Regions from separate parts of the Homo sapiens genome. Here regions 1, 2, 3, 4, 5 and 6 are each linked to region 7. Evidence: promoter capture Hi-C in human tissues and cell types (Jung and others, 2019). All regions are on one chromosome and are shown on one strand. The core of a region is centred on a gene start or on the middle of the fragment in contact, and the rest is flanking DNA. Distances in the headings are between cores, read along the strand shown.

Evidence for each region. The method cuts DNA at HindIII sites, captures the fragments that hold promoters and counts their contacts. A contact is called where the count stands out against the background at its distance.
Region 1: a fragment that was not itself captured here is called in contact with the fragment with the promoter of SHISA9 in region 7 in 2 of the 25 tissues and cell types used here (dorsolateral prefrontal cortex and mesendoderm cells).
Region 2: a contact is called between a fragment that was not itself captured here and the fragment with the promoter of SHISA9 in region 7, in 1 of the 25 tissues and cell types used here (dorsolateral prefrontal cortex).
Region 3: a fragment that was not itself captured here is called in contact with the fragment with the promoter of SHISA9 in region 7 in 5 of the 25 tissues and cell types used here (H1 embryonic stem cells, bladder, dorsolateral prefrontal cortex and 2 more).
Region 4: a contact is called between a fragment that was not itself captured here and the fragment with the promoter of SHISA9 in region 7, in 6 of the 25 tissues and cell types used here (aorta, dorsolateral prefrontal cortex, heart left ventricle and 3 more).
Region 5: a contact is called between a fragment that was not itself captured here and the fragment with the promoter of SHISA9 in region 7, in 2 of the 25 tissues and cell types used here (dorsolateral prefrontal cortex and lymphoblastoid cells).
Region 6: a fragment that was not itself captured here is called in contact with the fragment with the promoter of SHISA9 in region 7 in 4 of the 25 tissues and cell types used here (dorsolateral prefrontal cortex, lymphoblastoid cells, mesendoderm cells and 1 more).

Annotation. Positions count from the first base shown.
Region 1 is chr16:13,626,138-13,629,539 of GRCh38, reverse strand. No RefSeq gene overlaps it. Among named protein-coding and RNA genes, the nearest start is that of ERCC4, 290 kb to the left of the region's middle. The HindIII fragment of the contact is 3,717 bases long and covers 1-3,402 here.
Region 2 is chr16:12,093,639-12,096,912 of GRCh38, reverse strand. The region is part of intron 11 of SNX29 (sorting nexin 29); the gene reads right to left. Among named protein-coding and RNA genes, the nearest start is that of SNX29, 120 kb to the right of the region's middle. RefSeq lists an enhancer at 1-223. The HindIII fragment of the contact is 9,110 bases long and covers 1-3,274 here.
Region 3 is chr16:13,735,819-13,739,017 of GRCh38, reverse strand. No RefSeq gene overlaps it. Among named protein-coding and RNA genes, the nearest start is that of ERCC4, 180 kb to the left of the region's middle. The HindIII fragment of the contact is 8,935 bases long and covers 1-3,199 here.
Region 4 is chr16:13,643,181-13,646,385 of GRCh38, reverse strand. No RefSeq gene overlaps it. Among named protein-coding and RNA genes, the nearest start is that of ERCC4, 280 kb to the left of the region's middle. The HindIII fragment of the contact is 4,069 bases long and covers 1-3,205 here.
Region 5 is chr16:13,687,991-13,691,300 of GRCh38, reverse strand. No RefSeq gene overlaps it. Among named protein-coding and RNA genes, the nearest start is that of ERCC4, 230 kb to the left of the region's middle. The HindIII fragment of the contact is 5,935 bases long and covers 1-3,310 here.
Region 6 is chr16:13,898,105-13,901,407 of GRCh38, reverse strand. LOC105371093 (a long non-coding RNA gene) reads left to right here. Exons shown (of 4, transcript XR_007065000.1): 3 at 2,888-3,013. Among named protein-coding and RNA genes, the nearest start is that of ERCC4, 20 kb to the left of the region's middle. The HindIII fragment of the contact is 8,964 bases long and covers 1-3,303 here.
Region 7 is chr16:12,900,082-12,903,524 of GRCh38, reverse strand. SHISA9 (shisa family member 9) reads right to left here and starts at 1,927. Exons shown (of 5, transcript NM_001145204.3): 1 at 898-1,927. The coding sequence starts at 1,460. The HindIII fragment of the contact is 6,671 bases long and covers 1-3,443 here.

The DNA of each region.
Region 1 (3,402 bases), core at 461-2,960, 730 kb before region 7:
GGCTTAGCCTTCTTAAGTAGGACTTTATTTCTTGTTTTTGCTCCTACTTTTGCCCTGAAAGTTTCAGCTGTTGAGGACGACTTTTCTTTTCCTGTCTCCACGACTCTGGTTAAACCTCTCCCCACCTTTTTTTTTTTTTTTTTTTTTTTTTAACTGAGAACTTGACTTTTCATAATTTGTCTGTAAATTCCTACCTGTTCTATAAAGGACATTTCAGTGCTTTCTGCTTCTAAAAGTCTCCCAGAATTTTTATCAGCCAGACTAAGCCTTTTTCTCCTTAAAACTTTTCTTCTTAGACATTGTTTCTGAGAAATGTTTGACCTATCACAGACTGTAACTTTTTAAAAACTGATTCGTTCACATGTCATAGGCTCCTTAAAGGATTGACTTACTATGAATAACTTCAATTTTATAATTTTGTATGTCAGAATCAGCAATTCGTAGTCCACTTAGAACAATTCAATTAGCTACAATGACCTATTGTGTAGAAAAAAAAAACTGTAGCAGTTCCTAAAAAAATTTTTTTTTAAAAAAACTCATTTAAACCATGGACTTGTGCTCCCTGACAAATTAAGAAACAAAACTTCAGAGAATTTTGCCTCATCATATTTCAGAATGTGCTTAGATCTGTGAGGTCCATCCATGGGCTACCACCCTCATTTGCCCAACATTAAGAACTCTGCTTCAATAGGTTAATCATCTTGCATCTTACATTATTTGAAGTGAACTATATTTAGTATTGCCAATAGAAGACTGCCAATGGAATTAATATGAAACTTGATTCAGTAACTGTATTTTTAAATGGATCTGCTGTCAGAAAGAAAAGGGGCTATCTGTGGGCCTTGAAAAGGATATTATAAATGTCATTTTGCTTGGATGCAAGTGAAATATGCATTTAGGCTCTGTACTGACCAGAAATGCTTAAATCCAAGTCACCCAAGGTTTGAACTACTCTCTTTTGATGGCATAAAAATAAATTCCCTGGATCAGTAGTGAACCATTTAGTGTATCAGACTCAATGCACTGATAAATACCTTCTAGCCTCATTTGGTCTATTTCTTATTAAACAAGACCAAGCTTGTAGCTACTCAATATCAAATCAGCTGTCTGGGGGTTTCTTTGTGGTTGTTTCATAAAGCTGTTAACACAGCTGTGGACCAAGTAACTAATTAATCGACAAAATTAACTGATCTAATTGGTCATTATTATGCGAGAGAAAGCAATCCACATGCAAGCAATAGAGGTTTACATAATAGCGGTCCTCAGGACTTTGGTTTATAAAGCTGAACTCACTCTCTCCCTTGAATCTCAGTCTGTGGCCTCTCTTTTCTGCTACGCTACATTCTGTTGACTCATACACTGTAATTTTCTTTGTCATTTCCATCTCTAACATTGCTACCCATGGCCTCAAACCTAGACAATTACAATAGTTTCCAATTAAGCTTCCACCTTCGAGTTTCTCCTCCATGCAAACAAATTTCTTTTAAAAATGATTACTTTTTGTTTACATAAATAATGCATACTCTCGTTATTAAAAGTAAAACCCTTATGGATGTGGTTAAAAATCCCTTTGACAGCCTTCTTATCCTTAAAATACTATTTCTTTCTCCACTTCTCCAAAGGCAGCACTTGTGTATGTGAACTTCCAGACGTGATTCTTTTTTTTTTTTTTCTTTTTTTTTTTTTTTTAGCAGAGTCTAACTCTTGTCACCCAGGCTGGAGTGCAAAGGCACAATCTTGGCTCACTGCAACCTCCGCCTCCTGGGTTCAAGCAATTCTCCTGCCTCAGCCTCCAGAGGAGCTGGGATTACACGCACGTGCCACCATGCCTGACTAATTTTTGTATTTTTAGTAAGAGAGATGGGGTTTCGCCATGTTAGCCAGGCTGGTCTCGAACTCCTGACCTCAGGTGATCCGCCTGCCTCGGCCTCCCAAAGTGCTGAGATTACAGGCATGAGCCACCATGCCCGGCCGATTCTTTGTATTTGTAAAAACACTTGCCAATCGAAAATATGTAGAATAGAAAATGTGTTGAAATGTGTGTGCCTGCATGTGTGTACATGTAAATAGTATCATGATTTATTTATTTAGCAACACGCTTTTAAAAAAAATATTTTACTGTGATAAGAGCACTCAACATGAGATCTCTTAAAAAATGTCGAAGCACACAGGATTGTTGGTTGTGTACGGTGTCGTACAGCAGATCTCTAGAACGTATTCATTCCGCTTAACTGAAACTTTACGATTGCTTATGAACAACTCTCCATTTCCCTTTCCCTCATCCCCTAGCAGCCACCATTCCACTTTTTAACTCAGTGATTTTACTATTTTATTTTATTATTATTATTATCATTATTTTTAAAATTTTGAGACAGAGTCTCACTCTGTTGCCCAGGCTGGAGTGCAATGGTGTGATCTTGGCTTACCGCAGCCTCTGCGCCTACAGGGTTCAAGCGATTCTCCTGCTTCAGCCTCCTGAGTAGCTGGGATTACAGGCACGTGCCATCACGCTCGAGTAATTTTTGTATTTTTAGTAGAGATGGGGTTTTGCCATGTTGGCCAGACTGGTCTTAGACTCCTGATCTCAGGTGATCCTACCCCCTCTGCCTCTCGAAGTGCTGGGATTAGAGGTGTGAGCCACCACGCTCGGCCACTGTTTTAAATATTTCATATATATAAGATCTTGCAGTATGTGTCCTTCTGTGACTGGCTTATTTCACTTAGCATAATGTCCTCAAGGTTCAGTTCATGGTGTTACATATTGCAGAATTTCTTTGCCTTTGAAGGCTGAGTAATATTTCATTGTTCTGTATCCATTCATCTGCTGATGGACACTTAGCTTGTCTGTCTTCATTTTGGCTATTGTGAATAGTGCTGCAATAAACACGAGAGTGCTAACATCGCTTCAAGATCCTGATTTCAATTCTTTTGGAAGAAACTCCTGAAAGAATAAGTGGGGGAAAAGCTTCATGACATTGATCTTGGCAATGATTTTGTGGATTTGACAACAATAGCATAGGCAACAAAAGCAAAAATAGACAAATAAGTCTACAACAAACTAAAAAACTTCTGTACAGCAAAGGAAATTTCCACAGAGTAGAAAAAACAACTTCAGGAAAGTGAGAAAATATCTGCAAAACATATATCTGATAAACGGTTGACTTCTGAAATCTATAAGGAGCTCCTACACTCCATAGCAAGAAATAAAAAATTAATCATCCCGTTTAAAATGGTCTAGAGACCTGAATAGACATTTCTCCAAAGAAAACATAAAAGTAGCCAACAAGTATATGAAAAAATGCTCCAAGCCACTAGTCATCAGGGAAATGGAAATCAAAACCACAATGAGATATGACCTAAAACCTGTAAAAATAACTATTATTAAAAAATTTTTAAAAACAA
Region 2 (3,274 bases), core at 304-2,803, 810 kb after region 7:
AGCCACCCTATCCTTGCTACATTCATCCTGCTGTCATCGGTTCCTCCTTCCCCTCCTGGGAGCAAGGAATCCAGGGTCTATATGAGTGACCAGCATCCAGCACTGGTCTTTTTCCAGGTAAGGAGTTGGGAGCTGTACTGCATAACCTAAAACTTCCATTAGGAATTTCCCACTTCACGGGGAACTCGTTCCCATGGGTGGATCGAGTGGCGGTTGTTCAGTGCCACAGATAACAAAGAGTACATCACTCCCACATGACCCCATTGCCTCCCGTTTTGCCCCATCCAATCATTCATCATTTCTTTATTACCATAAAACTCCACTAGAATGCTCTGTGGGCAGGGCCCATGTGAGAAGAGCTAACATCTCCTGAGTGCTGAGCGCAATGTCAAAGCACTCTCTGTGTATGAACTCATTTAGTCCTCACAACAGCCCATGGTGCTGGCACTCTTAAATCTGCATTATAATGATGGGGAAATTTTAACATGTGACACAGAGCTTGTGCATGGCCAAGCTGGATCCCCACCTCTGGCTCCTCAGCACCTAGAACTGCGCCCAGCACATGAGAGATGTTTGGTAAATGTTTGGTGAATGAATAAACAGATGATAAAGAAGTGAGGCATGTCTAAATGCCATCTGGAACCTTCCAATTACTAAGACACTAAGACAGTCACTGAAGGGCTAATACACAAAATTCAGTGGGAAGTTTCCCCTTTAAAGAAAGATGCCCAGCGTGAGGGATCTGTGTTGGCCACGTCACCTAGGTTCACTTCTCGGCAGTTAAGGGGCAGGGGGCTCAGACTGCAGCCGATTTAACGGCCACTGCCCCACCATCTCATCCTAAAATTTTATCATGAAGCCCTTAGCCAAGCAAGCAGCTGGCTGCGGGGCCTCGCATCTCTCTCTGATGTTACTACAGCACTCCTCAACTTCATTTCTGGAGCTGCCGAATGTTTGGAATTGTGTTGCTAGGCGATGAGCCAGAACGCCTCACTAGCGTTGAGAATCTCTTCCAATAATAGCCAAGAGGAAAAAAAAGGACCCCCTCAACACAGCCTATTGACAAGTAAGGATGTTTTTCTTGCCCTCTCTGCCCTGGCTCACAATCAAAAGCTCTAACAAATTAAAAGGAAACAAATGGGCCGGATGGTCTGGGCTCACCTGACTCTATCACCTTCACTCCCCAGCCCCAAAAAAAGGGGCAAGAAGGCAACAATCGGGATTCAAAAGCTGAATACCCACAGCTAATCAATTATATCTCATGAAAAGCAATGACACAGGGGAAATGTTTTCTGATGAGCTGCAAATTCCCTTTTAGAACAGGACCACAAAGTGACTGGCAATGCATGACTGTGCTATACTGATGGTGAACAGAAAGCTGCATGCATGCTTGATGTTTTTCAACTAGAAAAGACCACTGCTCTCAACACCACCACCACTCGCGACCTCACCACTGAAAGGGGTACCGCGCTGGACATGAAAAATTCAGATAACCACCACCCGCAGCTGCGGAAGGAAAGCGGCAGAGAAAAGACTAGGGCGCCCCCTGGTGGCTCCAATGTGGCTCTTCCTGAAATTGGCAGGAATAAAGCCTGAGCCGCTTTCTTGCAACCTCCAGCTCCCAAATAACCATATATTCAAACGAAATTAACTCAAGAGTAGAAACTTTGTTGTTAAAAAGGAGGTGAAGGGAGACAAGGCTGTTGTAAACACCAACAAATATCAACTGAATGAATTTTGATTAAGATCTAGTAAAGTAGTACCAGTGAGCTGGTTTCCGCAGCAGTGACGGTACTTCCGCAGCTACGGAGTCAGGATCACTTAGTCTGGTGCATTCCACAGGTCTGTATCATTATGCATCTACTGCCTTCCTAAATCATCATCTTCATTGCAGGAGTGATGGCACGAAAAAGCTCCCAAACATACACACACACATGCATGCGCACACACACAAACAAATGCTCCCTGGGATCTATCATTTTCTTTAGGCTCATTTTTTCCTAAGTTTCATTCCTTGACCTATGCAGGAGGCGAGAGGTTTTAAAAAAAAAGCCTAAGACAAAATACGGTTCCTGGAAAACGGCCCTGCTGCTTCCTTCTGTCTTGGGGTTTCTCAAGTACTGTCGTTTGGGACTAGATAATGCTGTGTTGGGAGGAGCTGTCCTGTTGGGAGGACCTGTCCTGTCCACCACAGGACGTTCAGCAGCATCCCTGGGCTCTACTTAGCAGATGCCGGAAGGACCCTCATCCCAGGTGTGACAACCATATATGTCCCAGACATGGCTAAATGTCCCCTGGGGGTTGCAATCACCCCCAGCTAAGAACCACCATCCTGCGTGATCACTTCCAATTTTCAGGCCTCATAGAAAGAGTAGCCTGGTTTATGTCCTCTTAACCAGAGGGAGGATTGAGGGGTAGATACCAGCTAAAGGGAACTTCAGGGCCTCTGCAGGAGGGATGGTTTCAGTAAGATGGAAAATCAGGTCAACCTATTTGCAGTTCAACAATAAGGCCCAGATGTTGTTTTCAGGAAGATTCGTCAGCAACGTACCCTTTGAGGGTGTTGTTAATGATCACACCTACCAGTTATTCAGTCTTTAAGATGCCAGATACTCTCTTGGATTTTTTTTCCAATTTTTCTTATCAAGGTATAATTTACATAGCATATAACACCCTTCGATAGCTCAGGTGGTAATTTACATAGTGTATCTTCTGAGTATCTTCCATCTGTTAGTTCATTTAATCCTCACAACTGTGTCAGAGGGGTACTATGATAGCCCCATTTTATAGACGAGAACGCTGAGGCACAGTTAGCTTAAATAACTTGCCCAGGTTCCCACTGCTAATACATGTAGGGATGTGCGTAAGAACACAGCCAGTGTAGCTGGTTTAACATCAGCAAGCAGAACAGTAAAAACAAAAATAATGATACCACGATTGCCAGTGTTGCCCCAGACACTATGTGCAATTACCACCTGCTAACTACCTGAAGTGTTTCGTGTTTCTTACTTTTTTCTAAAGCCTGGAACACTCTGAAGGAGAGTCGTGAAAGCAAAGGAACTTCTCCCCAGGAAAATCCACGTATGTGCACAAACACACAAGCACGATTTTGCACACAATTGCAAGAGGTATCTGAAATCTCTAAAACTATCTATGAGCCTCCAATGAGGTTCCCAGATACAACAGACACTTCATATAACTCCCAGGAATCCACCAAGGGGATAATATTACCACCATTTCAAGGACTGGGAAAACGAGTTCAGAGAAATTAAAG
Region 3 (3,199 bases), core at 54-2,553, 840 kb before region 7:
ACATGTGGTGGTGTGCCCTAGTGGTCCCAGCTACTAGGGAGGGTAGGATGGAAGATTGCTTGAGCCCAGGAGGCTGCAGTGAGCCATGATCACACCACTGCACCCCAGCCTGGATGAAAGAGCAAGACCCTGCCTCAAAAAAAAGAAAATAAAAAAAAAGAAGAAGAAATAAACTTGAGCATCATGCTGCACGAACATGGAGCAATTTCAGATATGGGTGAGATTTTCTGAGTTCTGGAATGCAGCTGATCAAGCAAGAGAAATAGCACACAGTCAGCACTCAACAAATAGTAACTGTAGTTATTATTGTTTAATGGGTAATACAGATTAGAAGAGAAATCTGGTGGATTGTAGGATGGAATTACATTAGTGTAACCAAGAAGGATATAAAATATACTTAGGATGCTGGCTAAAGGATAATTACAGTTCTATATGCAAGGGGGGAGAATGGAGGAAAAGAACTGAGTTGGAGAGGATTTAGGATTCTTTTTCTAAGTGTGAAGGGAAAGCACTGGAGCTAGGAGAGGAGAGTGTGGAGAAGGGAAGTGATAAGATCAGATTTATGTTTTGAAAAGATCTCTCTGTAGTATTGAGCATGGGCAGTAGGGAGTGTGGGTGAAAGCAGGGAAGTGGAGGAGTTTATGTCAGCTATGTCAGTAGTGGGGTAAGAAGCAATGGTGGCTTGGTAGTGCTTGCGTTGGATGTAGGAAGAAGTGCTCTGATCGAAGATACATTCTGCAGGTAGAACAGACAGGACTAGCTGATGTCTTGTATATGGGTCTTGAGAGAAAGAGAGGAGGAAAAGATAACTCTCAAACAACTGTAATGATGGTGTTGTTATTTGTCTAGAGATTGACTGCAGAAGAAACAGGATTGGGAGCAGGTGGTGAAATCAACAGTTTTGGGCCGTCTTAAGTTTGAGATGCCTGTTGGATGCTCAAGTAGAGACTTAACTAGGTAATTGGAACTTTGAGTCTGAAGTTTGTAATTGAGGTTAGGGCTGGAGAATCACATTTTAAAGTCTTTATTGTATAGATGATATTAAAAGTCATGGATCTAGATGGGATCATTGAGAGAATAAGTATAAATAGAGAAGAGGTTCCATGACCAGATCCTGGGATAGACAGAAGGAACAGTGAGTGAAGAAGGGGGAAATCAGACAGTGTAGGATCTAGGAATCAAAGTGGAGAAAAAGCCCAAGAAAGAGGGGATGATCAACTTTGTCAAATGATTCTCAAAGCATGACTGCAAAGAGAACTGAGATTTCATTACTGCCCTGGCATTGTGGAGTCACTGGAGATGTTAGCAAGAGCAGTTTCATGGATGTGCGGGGGATGTAAGCCTGAGTAGAGTTCTAGTGTCTTCTCTAAGGTTTTGTAGGAGAGATCATGATTGTAATGTAAAGGGATTGGAACTTCATCATGAGGGAAATAGCATTTTAGCAGGAGAGGAGATGCATTCAGATTTGCATTATAGAAAGAGTACCCTGGATGTAAGATAGTAGAAGGAAAGTCAGCTTGAAAACTGTTGTTGAGGGCGATGGCCAGAGCCAAGGCTAGCAACAGTGGTGGTGGAGAGAATAACTTGATTTAAAAGAAATTAAGGAGATGGAATCCCCAGAACTTGAAGATGGATTGGAGGTGAGAGGTGGGAGAGAAGGAGGTGGGTTAAAATCCTGACTCTACTACTTGATAGCTCTCTTAATGTCTCTGTAAATCTGTAAAATGTAAATCTGTAATGTCTCTGTCATCTGTAAAATGAGGCTAATAACATATCTACTTCATAGGTAAATTGTAGGATTCAATGAGATAATGCATGTCAGATGCTTACCACAGGATCTGGCATATGGCAGCTATTGAAACCCATAAACAGAACCTTAAAACCTTTTAGATTTCCTTCACCCTTTATTAAGCACCCTCTTCTTTGAGACTGTTACCTCTTTATTTGGCAATAAGAGCTGACATCTTTTTTGAGGAAGGCATCATTAACCATTTGTAAGAATCCACAGCTCGGCCGACTTCTTTGCCAGGAAGATGACATGATTCATATTTAATACTAAGTGTTATATAATCTATATATTATTATTTCATATCATCAATGAGACTCAGATATCAAAAATCACTTTGACTAAAAGCCTTCACTCAGACGTGGATACAATTGGCTGTTTTTGTGATTGACATTCAGTGATAGTTAGGTTCACAGGGACAAAAAATTTTACATGTAGGTTGATTTGCTTATATCATGCCTTCAATTTGTCCACACAAATTGGGCACTTAGGTACACAATTACCCAATTAGTGGGAGTCATTTCCTAATCGCAGGGGCAAACATGATAATTGAGCCCTCAAATGGCTAAGCACACACAATTTGCTTCCTTTTAGGAAAGGTGGCACTTTTGAGTTTCATGTTGGAATTAAAAGCATCTAACAGCTAAGGATTCCTTTCCTAAATGAATGGTGGTGTCACTTCAGCACGGGCTGAGCATGGTGGTTAAGTAACTTAAGGAGCTATTAGTTCTAGAGTTTCCATGTGAGGATTGTGTTTTTTTTACTGGATATTTTGTTGAGATTTCTTGTCCTTGTGTGCACCACTGGACCACCAGGGAATTTTGTCAACAGATGCTGTTTGTCTCTGCCTACCTTGAGAGTCACCTTTGCCTGCATAGGGGTAACAGTGCCTTCCCTCTAGTTGTGTATGTCATTAAGTGGGAAGCTCTTGCTAGAAGGGCAGGAACATTCTCTTTCTCCATCCAGAATGCCCTTGCATGTGACTTCACTGTTTCTGACATTCAGATGGACCTAGGGAGGTTTCTATTTCTGTCCAATCAAAAAAGAACTCCCTGGTGGGACCAGCAATATAATATCGGGCTTGGAAGCTTGATTCTGGCTGAGATCCCAGTTTGATGGAAAGCCGCTGGAGAGCCACTTGTGGAGTTGCTTGATGAAAGCAGTCTTCCTTCCTGCTTATTAAAAGAAGCTCAATAAAATGGAGAACAAGACTTGGACAGAAGCTACTCAAAGGAAGAAACACAAATGGAAAATAAGCATAGGAAAAAATTCTAAGCATCGTTAGCCATCAGGTAGACGCAAATGAAAACAACAGTGAGACTGGGGCCTGTTGAGGGGTGGGGAGCAAGGGGAGGGAGAGCATTAGGACAAATACCTAATGCATGCGGGGCTTAAAACCTAGATGACAGGTTG
Region 4 (3,205 bases), core at 1-2,500, 740 kb before region 7:
TAGTATCTTCTTTCAGGTAATTCTTCTATTAATTCCACAGAGAGGGGAAAGCCTGTGGTCTTCATCTGAGGAAAGGACATCTGATGCCAGTGTTTTTTATCAAATTTGTCCAGAGTAGATTGGAAGCTGATTTTCAAGATATCAAACCAATATACAAGAAACTGTCATGGTTGGGTTTGTTTTTGTGGGTTAAAAAAAAAATAGCCCAACAACTCTTTGACCTATACAATCTGTCTTTGAAAAATGATTTCCACATGTGTGACATATTTGGACTGCCTTGTAAAAACACAATTTTTATTTGACAGTTTTAATATTTCGAACACTCCATGTTGACGTTTTTATCAGATGCATTGTTTTTGTTGGCAGTGGGAGTTTGCAAACTGATGAAGAAAATCAGGAAGGAAATTAGCTTGAAGCTGCTGAATATTTGCGACCAGAAGGTAAACGAAGGAGGTACCAAGTCTAGAAATAATTACCATCACTGCCACAATCCTCCATTAGTGCTGGCAAAAGACCCAGGGTCTGACAGTTAAATTAAAGCTTGCAACCCAGTGAAAAATTAGCAGAAGAAAGCTTGAATTCTGGCAACATCACATCGCATGCCATTTACTGTAGAACCTGACAACTTTGCTCCATTCATAAGATTCACTGGGAGATAAGACCGCTTAAAAAATGTAGAAAACAAATTCATCTATGGCAGGCAGTGTTTACAAAGCAATGGCTCAACCTGTTTGCCATTAAACTAGAAGCTTGCTCAATGGAATTTTTCTTTTATTATGCAGCATTGAATGATGACTGGACTTGAATGTAAAGCCCAGCTGCAACACGTATTAGCTGTGTGTCCTTGGACTAGTGACTTAACCTTTCTGAGACTTAGTTTCCTTACCTTCAAAATATATATAACAATATCACCTACCTAAATCAGGTTATTGAAGAGAAAATAAAATAATGCATTTAATGTGCGTTAACACGATGCCCAGCACATCACAGTGATAACTGTTGAAGTTGTTCTTATTGTTGTTCAAGCGATGGTGGAAGAAGAGATTAATTGCCATAGAGAGATTTGGGAGCCTTCTTAGAAAACGTGGAATCTGAGCTTTGTCTTGAACTAAGCGTGACATGTGCATTTGGGTTGGGAGAAGAATGGCAACCTAGGAAGAGGAGAATGTTTGAGCAGATCTGAGGTGGGAGAGTTTATGGCTTATTCAGTGAGATGGAGAAGGGCAGAAAACAGGGAATGTGGCCAGGCATGGTGGCTCACACTTTGGGAGGCCAAGACAGGTGGATTACCTGAGGTCAGGAGCTTGAGACCAGCCTGGCCAACATGGTGAAGCCCCATCTCTACTAAAAATATAAAAATTAGCCGGGCGTGGTGGCCAGTGGCTGTAATCCCAGCTACTTGGGAGGCTGAGGCAGGCGAATCGCTTGAACCCGGGAGGCACAGGTTGCAGTGAGCAGAGATAGCACCACTGCACTCCAGCCTGGGCAACAGGGTGAGACTCCATCAAAAAACAAAAACAAACAAACAAACAAAAACAGGGAATGGCTTTGAGTTAGTATAGTTTCAGGACCACTTTTCTCTGTGACTCTTCTGGCATAGGGGGTTGCTTTCCTGAGTAGTCAGGTGACATGCTTAAAACTAGGTTCTCGAGCCAGGCACAATGGCTCACACCTGTAATTGCAGCTACTCAGGAGGCTGAGGCAGGAGCATCACTTTAGCCCAGGAGTTCTAGGCTGCAGTAAGCTATGATCATGCCACTGCCCTCTGGCCTGGGTGACTGAGACTCCCTCTCAAAAGAAAAAATAAATAAATAAATAAAAATAAAATAAGCAAGAGTACTAGTACTAGCATGTTTATTGCAATATTATTGAGAATGGCTAAGAAAAGCAACAAGCAAACCCTATGTTTTTCCCCAATCAAGATAGTTGAATGGAGACATTTTCTCATTCTGTGGAATATTTTACCGCTTTTATAGTAATTATTAATAGTTACAACCTATAATCTGAGCAAGTTGCATTATATTTAACCTGGGCAAGTTGTATACTGTAATGAGACCAGTATAGTCCATTTTTTAAAAAAAGTAGGGAAAAAACCCTTTATTTATATGACCATATGTGTTTTCATATAGTTGTATAAACATAGAGAAAGATCACACATAACAGCCTTGTTTCTTTGGTGAATGAGTGTCAGGGATTGAGCAAGGAGGGAGAAACTTGCCTTTTTCTTTGTAAACCTCTGTTTTTGACTTGTTGCCACAAGCAGGCATTTTGTAGCTTGGAATAAAAATCCAATAAAGTATATAAAAAAGGTACTTTCCTGCTGAAGAAGGATACAGTAAAAGAAGGGGAGAGTGAAATTGAAGGAAAATTGTTGGAGCCTTAAGCATAGAAGAGGAGAATGACAGAAGCTTTTGTTCATTTATGTGCTGTACTGGCTTAAATTCCGCTAAGGGGAAATTTTTCCTCCTTCTTGTGCAGTGAACAGGGGTATTACAAAGTCAATTTATGTGTCTTAGCTTGGCATGGAAACTCCCTTGCATGATGAGGTGGTCCCTGCCCACGGGTCCAGCCTCATCAACCACCTTCTCCTTATGTATTGGTATTGTTGAGCTGCTTGCCTGGCAACCCTCTCACTGCCCTCCCCACAGGCATGCACACACAGGCACACACACACAAGCATGCACACACTGCCATGCACATACAGTCATGCACACACAGGTATGCACACACAGCCATGCACACACAGCCATGCACACAGAGTCATGCACACAGGCATGCACACACAGGCATGCACACACAGGCATGCACACATAGCCGTGCACACACAGGTATTCACGCACAGCCATGCACACAGAGGCATGCACACATAGGCACATGCATAGGCATGCACACACAGCCATGCACACACAGGCACGCACACAGGCATGCCCACACATGCACATTCATGTGTGTGCTTCATGCCATTCCTCACCTCTCTGTTCTTCCTTTATTCCACAACACTCTTCCCACTCCTTATTGTCTGATTAATTTTCATTCTCTAACATTCAACTTGGGAAATACTCCCTCACCCAAGATTGGGATAAGCACCCTTATATATGCTTCCTTAAAATCCTGGGCAGTCTAGCCCAGCTGTTCCGTGTGCCCTTGAAATAATTTGTACAGGTACTGTCTGCCCCTCAAGATGAATTTCGTCTCCATCTCTTGC
Region 5 (3,310 bases), core at 627-3,126, 790 kb before region 7:
TATAATAAGTTAGAAAAGAGTCCCTCCTCCTCAATTTTTTGAAATAATTTCAGTAGGATTGGTACTAGCTAGTTCTTCATTCTATGTCTGGTACAATTTGTCTGCAAATCTGTCTAGGTCGGGGCTTGTTATGATTGGTAGGGTTTTTATTACTGATTCAATTTTGGAACTTGTTATTGGTCTGTTTAGGGTTTCAATTTCTTCCTGGTTCAATTTTGTGAGATTATGTGTTTCCACAAATTTATGTATTTCTTCTAGGTTTTCTCCAAAAAGTTTTTAAGGATGGGAGGCATTTTTACCTTAAGAAAAAACAATTATTATTGACTATAATGTGGAGACAGCATATATTTGTTTTTAGAGCCTTAATATTTTGTAAACCTTTACCTTTATCTCTGTAATACTGTTTTTGACCAGATTCCCTAGAACCAGAGCTTAAGATGAGAGTTCTTTTTTAAGTGGTTTATTGAGAATGCTCTTAGGAGAAGGGGAGTGAAAGCGCAGGGGAAAAGAACTCAGCCAGGGTGGGTCAGCTGGAGACTGGCTTCCACCTGATCTCAAGGTGAACTCTGGAACCTATGCTGCATCACAGTTAATCCCACCTTGAGGCAAGGGAAACCACAGGGGTCAACTGTGAGCCTTCAGCAGCCAGTACTCATGACACATATGGGCACACTGGCCTGTTAAAGATCTGAGTGGGGTAACAACAGTGTCAATGGCAAGGGCTTTATTTACCTTGCCTTGAATTGGAAGAGAATTTCTTTTTCTTATTAGAGATGGGGTCTCGCCATGTTGCCCAGGCTGGAACTCCTGGGGTCAAGCTATCCTCCCACCTCTGCCTCCCAAAGTGCTGGGATTACAGGCATAAGCCACCGTGCCCAGCCTGGAAGAGACTTAGTTCGTGTATATTTATGTATTTATTTTATTAGTAAGAAATGCATGTGGTTAAAAAGACAACTAAAAAGGTGTGCAATCCGTCTCCAATTTTCTTCCCCAGAGACAGTCACTCTTAAGCATTTCTTGTATATCCTTTCAAGGGTAGTCTATATGTATTTTTCTCTTCCTTTTTGTAAACCAAATTATAGCATTATGCTCTGCATGTTGTTCTCGTGACTGAATGAGGAAAGTTGGAGAATATTCTATATCAAAATATAGAGGGCTGTGTCATCATTTTTAATGGCTGTAGAGCATAGCACTGTTTCTATAAACCACAGTATATTCACCTTGATTTTTTTGCAGTTAATTTTCCTTTTATGGCTTTACTATGCACATGTATATAAACCACTTTAAATAGTTGAAATAGTCTAGAAGATAAATTACTAAAACTAACACGTAGGATCTCATGTCCTATAAGAGTTCACCTGGAAGACCAATAACAGGACCTGGAAATAGCACATTCCAAGAGAAAAATCATACGTTTTTCCTATATGACCCTGTGGAGTACAACCAGTGATGGGTATAAGTTGGGGAGCTTTGGCTGAAACTCTTGTCACTTCATCTGAGCACGGCAGAAATCCCAAGCCAATTTCAGAGCAATTTCAGAGCACTTCGTAGGTTTCTGAGGAATCCATTGACTATATCCAAAGCTCTCCAAACTTTGGTCCAAACTTTCTTTATTGATTTAATGTAAAGCCTAATAAAATTCTGTGGCTTTAAAATAAACCAGCCTAAACTAGATTTGGGTTTAAAAGCCGCCGCGACGGTACATTTGTATATCTGTATCTTTATCTGTGGAAATTTAATTGTCTTTTCTAAGTCATGGTTTAATGGAGCAAAGGTCTGAAACAGTCCCTGCTTGGTTGTGTTGCAAAATGAACAGTTGACATTCTTACAAGATGAAAAGCTGCTTCAGAAGCTAAAGACAGAAGCTTGGCTTCTCCCTTGGGGAAGCCTGGGTAGCCATGATTCACACACAGCAGGTACCAACATGGAGCTCAGTTAGGGTAAGGGTGTTGGTGCTTCCACAAGCAGAGTCTCCCTAGGTTCTTTTTTTTTTCTTTTTTCTTTTTTTTTTTTTAAATTTCAAAGGACAGATGCCCCATGGCCAGATTCCATGAGTAAAAAACTTGGCCCAAAATTTAATGTGGCTTTGTAATTCCTGTTTCATTGTATATGAAACCATGTGGATGGAACTTAGATGTCTGCCATTTCTTAGATAAGCATGTTTCACCAGAGACAACTAACACCTAGAATTAGATTAAAATGTCTGTTGAGTAGTCCTCTATTGTGTATAAGTACTGCATTTTCTTTCATTTTTTTAATCATCCTGGTGTTTTTTAATTTTTTGACGGAGACTCACTCTGCTGCCAGGCTGGAGTACAGTGGCACAATCTTGGCTCACTGCAACCTCCACCTCCCAGGTTCAAGCGATTCTCCTGCCTCAGCCTCCTGAGTAGCTGGGACTACAGGCGCACACCACCATGCCCAGCTAATTTTTCTATTTTTAGTTGAGACGGGGTTTCACCATGTTGACAAGGATGGTCTCGATCTCTTGACCTTGTGATCCACCTGACTTGGCCTCCCACAGTGCTGAGATTACAGGTGTGAGCCGCTGCGCCCGGCCTCTTTTTTTTTTTTTAACTTTTATTTTAAATTCAGGAGTACAAGTGCAGGTTTGTTACATAGGTAAACTTGTTTCATGGGGGTTTGTTGTATAGATTATTTCATCATCCATGTATTAAACCTAGTACTCATTAGTTATTTTTCCTGATCCTAACTAAAAGAGTATAATTGGATTGTTAGTAACACAAAAGATGAATGCTTGAGGGAAGGGGGACTCCATTTTCCATGATGTGATTATTATGCATTGCATGCCTGTATCAGAACAGCCAGTGTACCCTATAAATATATATACCTACTGTCCCCCACAAAAACTAAAATAAAAAATAAAAATAATAAACATAACACCAAAAAAATAAAATAAAATGTCTGTTAATAGATACCAATAAGACATAGTATTTTACATTGTCCGGTGTCCAGCTTAGAATGAAGGTACTGTTGAAAGGCTTGGAATAAGACTTTCATTGTCTGAGGATTAGTAGTGAAGGTCAGGTGTTTTGGTACCTTGTAGAAATTAAAAATAACTCAGGTGTGTTTCCTTTCTCTCCCTCTTTGGAAGAGGTGAAAGTGATGGGCAAATGTCAACTACTTTATCCAACACTGCTCAGTGAAGGTGTTGAATAAGATACTCATTAATAGCAGAACTGAATTTTTAATTGGCAAAATGTCACCTTGATGGATTTTATATGTAGGTGGGTTATTTCTTCTTTTCAGCTTATATCGTTGACAGCCTGCTGGGTACTGGAACCCTTCC
Region 6 (3,303 bases), core at 544-3,043, 1.0 Mb before region 7:
CCCTTAGCAGTGACGACTTTAAACTTTTCTTTCTTGTATTGAGTATTCCTTCTGCAGCTGACCCAGCCCTTCAGTACAGAATGTCACAATACAGTACCGGCACACATTGTGGTTGTGGCCTTGGGGAGAATGAATGACAGTGCAATAAGGGGAAGATAAATGTTTCAGAGCCGAGCAGACTCAAGAGTGATCATCATGCACCCACTTACTTATGGAAAAAGTATGCAGCATGTATCTTCTATGATACATGAGATAATTTTAGATGGTAAATAGAAATAACATTAATAGCATCAAAAAACAATGAGTAACTAAATCAGCTGGGAGGCACACCCTTTTTCTCTTCTATTCATTCTCTTTTTTTCCTCCTGGTATATGGATGTGATATTTGGAGCTCCAGCATCTATTTTGTGACCATGAGACAACATTGAAGATGGAAGCCATATTTTAAGAATAGCAGAGTAGGGCAGGGCATGGTGGCTCACCCCTGTAATCCTGGCACTTTGGGAGGCAGAGGTGGGCGGATCACCTGAGGTCAGGAGTTCGAGACCAGCCTGGCCAACATGATGAAACCCTGTCTCTACTAAAAATATGAAAATTAAGCCGGGCACAGTGACTCACGCCTGTAATCCCAGCACTTTGGGAGGCCGAGGTGGGCAGATCACGAGGTCAGGAGATCAAGACAATCCTGGCTAACACGGTGAAACCTCGTCTCTACTAAAAAAAATACAAAAAATTAGCTGCATGTGGTGGCATGCACCTGTAGTCCCAGCTACTCGGGAGGCTGAGGCAGGAGAATCACTTGAATCCCAGCTACTTGGGAGGCTGAGGTAGGGGAATCACTTGACCCCAGGAGATGGAGGTTGAAGTTAGCTGAGATCATGCTACTGCACTCCAGCTAGGACCACGGAGTGAGACTCTATCTCAAAAAAAAAAAAAAAAAAAAAAAAAGAGGCTGGGAGTGGTGGCTTACACCTGTAATCCCAGCACTTTGGGAGGCTGAGGCGGGCGGATCACGAGGTCAGGAGATCGAGACCATCCTGGCTAACGGGGTGAAACCCCATCTCTACTAAAAATACAAAAAATTAGCCAGGCGTGGTGGGGGGTGCCTGTAGTCCCAGCTACTCGGGAGGCTGAGGCGGGAGAATGGTGTGAACCCAGGAGGCGGAGCTTGCAGCGAACCGAGATCACGCCACTGCACTCCAGCCTGGGTGACAGAACGAGACTCTGTCTCAAAAAAAAAAAAAAAAAAAGAAAAAGAAAAAAAAAGAGAAAGAATAGCAGAGTAGAAAGACTGCAGAAACTTAATTTTTGTGATATACATCTACCTCTAGCCTTGGCTTGTCTACTTCTGGACTTCTTTCATATGTGAGAAAAATAAACCTCTAATTTGTTGAAGCCACTGTTATCTTTTTGGGATTTGTCACTAGCTGATAAATGTAATTCGTAACTGTTGTGGAGACATCTTGTGTTATTTAAAAGTGTGGAATGTTTATAGGCAAATAGTAACCATTACTCACTGTTGTAATTAATGTGAAAAACTGCAGTGTTTTTATTAAGAGGGAATTAAGCTTCAGCATTAAGCTAGTAATATCAATAAGAGGCATTTATAGTAGCTCTGAAGATAGCTGCAAGCTGTCATTACCCTAATAGGGTACAACACTCGCTGCCACAGCCGGGATCTTTTATCTTTTTTTTTTTTTTTGAGACAGCGTCTCGCTTTGTTATCCAGACTGTAGCGCAGTGGTGTGATTTTGGCTCCCTGCAACCTCCACCTCCTGGGTTCAAGTGATTCACCTGCCTCAGCCTACAGTAGCTGGGATTACAGGCGCTCACGTCACCACGCCTGGCTAATTTTTATATTTTTTAAGTAGAAACAGGGTTTCACGATGTTGCCCAGGCTGGTCTCGAACTCCTAGCCTCAAGTGATCCGCCCGACTTGGCCTCCCAAAGTGCTGGGGTTAGAGGCGTGAGCCAGCACTCCTGGCCCACAGCCAGGATCTTGGTAGCAGCTGTAGGATCAGTGCCACCTGATTCGGTGGTCGTTTGAGAGGCCACGCAAACTTAGGTGAGGGTAATAACACACATGCTGCATTTAATGCATAAAATAAGATGATTTATTTTAACAAAATGGTGCACATCAATGGGTGAACCCAGGCCATAGCAGCGCCTTGAGTAGGGATGCACAGCAAACTGACTCTGGGAATAAAAATGTGATGGGAGAACTTGTATGTATCCAAGCATTGTGATCTGCTTTATTCTCTTTTTTTTTTTTTTTTTTTTTTTTTTTTTTTTTTTTTTTTTGAGACGGAGTCTCATTTTGTTGCCCAGGCTGGAGTGCAGTGGCATGATATCGGCTCACTGCAACTTCTGCCTCCCAGATCAAGCAATTCTCATGCGTCAGCCTCCGGAGTGGCTGGGACTACAGCACCTGCCACCATGCCCAGCTAATTTTTGTATTTTTAGTAGAGGTGGGGTTTCACAGTCTCTACTAAAAATACAAAATTGTTGTATTTTTACAACAATTTTGGCCAGACTAGTCTCAAACTCCTGACCTCAAGTGATCCACCCACCTTGGCCTCCCAATGTGTTGGGATTACAGGCGTGAGCCACCCTGCCCAGTGTGGAATTTGCATTTCTAACAAGTTCTCCTAGGTGCTGGTGCTGCTGCTAACTCTGGTCTGGGGACCACATTTTGAGAACGATTGTATTAAGCCAAGTCCCATAGTGGAGTTATTTTTAGATGAAAAAGATCCATTTGAGCTGTTTACCCAGATCAAATTAATTAGGTACTTGTCAAATCTCCTCATTTCACTTTCTGAAGTGTAAAAATGAAATTAACCTCTGAAATGACTTTCCTTTTATTCCTCCCTCTCTCCCATGTTTTGAGCATTACTGAACCAGGCACAAAGGAGTGTAGTAAAAGGACATTTCTTACCCTGAGCCTGGAAAGGGCATGGCATTTGCAGCCTGGCAGAGTCTGATTTTCACCCCATTCCATCCCATCTGACTTCATGTGAGTATTTTGGTCTTAATGCCCTCATCTGAAACATGTTAACGATTTCCTATCCTAGACATCAAGCTGATGCAGTTATTAAAAAAGGAGACAGACGAAGCGAAGAGAACCTCATGCATCCCCTTGGAAAGAGAATTTTTTTTTCTTTCTTCTTGAGAAAATTCCTATAGCACTGATTCAAACTTTTTTCTTCCTTCTCTGCTTTTTTTTTCTTTTAAAAATGCTACCACAAAGCTGATATATATAAAAGCAAAATCTGGAGTTTTTTAATCATTGATTTGAGAATTATG
Region 7 (3,443 bases), core at 678-3,177:
AAAAATTTAAAAAAAGCAAAAGGCAAATAGCTCCATTAATCCCCCAAAGCCTTCTCCCATCTGCTGGAACTAGCTGGTGCTGGGGCTTGCATAATGAACAAGGCAAACCCGAAAGTTGACGAAATCAGGGTGCTTGGAAGTGAGGGCGCGCGAGGAGGGGGCTCGGGCCCCCGGAGTCCACGCCAGCCAGGGCAAGGGGCTCAATCTGCAGCGATGGCCACGGCCCCGGGCAGGGAGAAGTGGTGGCCAGAGAAAGGGATGAGGTGGGTAAAGGGGCGGGGGCAGCTGAGGTCCCAAATCCAGGGACGGCGAAGCTCTGGGAAAGCGAGGCGGCCGCTCCAAGCAAGGCTTTTGTTCTCGCCCTCCCCTCACTCCACCTCCCTCGTCTCCTTTTCGCGAGTCGTACGAGTTGCAGGCGGCACTCACTCTGACCCTCCCTCCTTCACACACGCGCGCTCGGGCTCACACACGCCCCCCTCCCCTTTCGGGCTCGCCTGCCCCTGTTTACCAAAAAGCTAGCACCTGGAATCCGAGGGGTGCCATGGACCCTCTCCCCAAACCCGAAGATTTCGGGGCCACGGGCTCCCAGGCTACGTGTCTCAAGTCCGCCTCAGTCACCAGCGGGAGGAGGCGGCCAGAGGGTGAGGGAGCAGAGTCACACACACACACACACACGCTCACACACACACGAACACGCTCAGACCCACACCTGTGCTGAGCCCAGCGCCCCTTCTCCGTGTTCCAAGCCGAAGTTGGCTTCCCGGTGACATCCCCCAGCGGAGAGGCTGGGATGCGGGGAGCGGGGACCGTGGGGAGCGCCATTGCCTGGGGGAAGGTGGGGAGGAGAGAGCAGGGAGAGCGAAGCCCCGAGGGGAGGGCGAAGGGGAGGCAGCCCACCTGGACATGTGCTCCCTTTGGGGCCGGTGCGCTTTCTCCAGCCCCAGCTTGGTGAAGATGCCCACGAGCACCATGACGGCCACCACCCCGCAGATGATGTAGACGATCAGGTTGGTCTTGTCCTTGGTGGGGTCGTGCAAGGGGTCGTCCTTGCGGGCGGGGGGCTTGCCGGTGTTGAGCCAGAGCGGCGTGTCGTAGTTGGTGCAGGTGCTTTGGTTCAGTCGCCGCTTCTTAAACGTGCAGCAGAACCGGAAGCCACAAGTCCCGCAGCAGAAGATGAAGTCGCCCGAGCTGCAGTTGAACGGCGGGTCCCACTGGCCCATGACATCGAAGTAGCCCCGGCAGAAGTCCGGCGTGGGCGCCCGGGTCGGGGGCGCGTCCGATGCCTCAGCGCCCTCGCTGGCCTCTCCGGAGGCGGCCCCGGAGCGGTTGCCCCCCGCCAGCAGCAACACGCCGCCCAGTTGCGCCAGCTGCCCGTGTCCCGCTCGCTCCTGCGCCCGGCACACGCGGGCGCACAGCTCGGTGAGGAAGCAACCGAGGAGCAGCCGAAGGACGCGGCGCATGGTGTCTCCCAGCCCGGGCTCGGCCGCTCGGCCGCCGCTGGAGCCTCTGCGGCCGCCTCTCGAGGCGCGGCCGAAGCTGCCGAGGCTGCTGCCGGGAGCTGCGAGCCGCCGCGGGCCGCACATGCAGGGAGCGGCGCGGGGCGCTCGGTGGTCGGCGGCCACTGCGCTCGGCTCAGCCCGCGTTCGCCTCAGCCCGCGTTCGCCTCCAGCGCGCCGCGCGCCGAGGGGCCGGCCGGGGAGGAGCGCGCCCGGCCGGGCGGGGGGAGGATGAGCGGGGTCAAGCGCGGGGTGCAGGTCCGGCCGGCCACTGGGTGAGGCGGGGGTGGAGAGCAGAGGAGAATCGGGCTGGCAGCGCCTAGCCTTGGCCGGCAGCCCCGGACTGGCCGCCCCTAGCCCTCTCGCAGTATCCCTCTCACCTCACCAGCTCGCCAAGTGCGCTGAAGAGAGCGAAGCGACACTTGTGGAATGAAGGGAGGGCAGGAGGGAAGGGGGAGGGGGAGGAGGGCGGGCAGAGGAGGCGCGGGTGGGGGGGGGCGGGCGCGAGCTCTAGAGGGGCGGGGGCGCGGGGAAGAGGTGACTAGAGCGGGAGCTAGCTGGGGGGCGTGCAGAGCTGAGCCAGGCGAGCGGACGGGGAGGAGCGAGCTCGGCAGCAGCCGAGGCTAGAGGAGCCGCTCGGATTTCCAGGCAGGTGGAAAACCGCGGCAGGACCTCCCGCGCCCTCTCTGGGTAGGAGGCGCGGCTCAGCCCTGTCCAGAGCGCAGAGGCGGCTCAGCTCGTAGCTTTTTCACCGGTGCGTGTGCAGGAGCGGCGGCCGAAATCTGTGCATCAGGGGAAGGATGACTCGGAGAGGATGGGGACAGACTAAATGGCTTTCACTCCAAGACAGACTGGGTGCAGTCTGGTCAGGATCGCCCCTCCCAGGCGTGCGGGGCCTCCTTGCCCTTCCCGGCTGCGCCCTCCAGCCCTGAGCGCAACCCGCATGGCTCAACTCTCTGGGCCCAAGCAAGGACCCAGGCGGAGCTGGGAAGGACAGGTGGCAAGCCCCTGAGCCAGGGATAAGCACCCTCCGGGGGAGAGGGGCTCGGGATGAACGAATCAAAGAAGGTCGGGGGTAAGAGGGGACAGCCGAACAAGGCCGAGGCTATGGCGTGTCCTGGAAGGTCTTTCCTTGGAAGTCCCCCAGCCTCTCGAACCTGCCGCTTTCTGTCCCTCTTCGCCCCCGCAGCGTTTTCTGCGCTCCACAGGAGGGAACACCGCGGCGCCGCCTCTGCGCTCCCGGATCTGGCGCAGCGCAAGGCCTGGGCACCCAGCCTCAGCCACCCTCCCGGACCTGGAGCCCGCGCATCGGTCTCTGGAGCTGGCTGGCCCCTGTCCCCACGGATCCCCCCGGAAATCCTCACCGGGGGCTGCAGAGCTCTGCCTTGCTTCCTCAGCTTCCAGCCTCCCGTCTCCTCTGTGTTTCCAAATCTGCCCTCTCTCTCCTAGCGAATTCCAGCTCCCCGGAGGCCCTCTCTCATTTCTCCCACCTCTTTCTCTCCTCTGCTTGAATTTGACTCCAGTAGCCCCAAAACAGGATTTGCACCAAAGCTGCTACACCAAATTTAGATCTCCCCACGCCCCGGCGTTTTGTTTTTTAATTGCATTAACTAAGTATACACTTTGCAGGCTGCTAGGCGATTTGCAAGGAGATAATGTTTCCACAACCCTCCTCTCCACTTGGCTGCAGTCAAGGGCTTCTCAGGGCATCTTCAGAGAACGAAAAGTTGGGCGACATGTAAAATGGTTTACTAGGGTCCCCTGAATTGAGAAAGGGTGGGAGGATTTATTGGGACTCTGTTGCAAGTTTTCTCCAAATGAGAAGTTTGGCTAATCGCCCCTTCTCTTTGAAAAAAAAAGTCACATTTTGATGTTTCAAAAAAGATTTGCAAACACACAGCAAGACATTGACAGGGCATACCCAGGAGTATTATATTCCAAACCCAT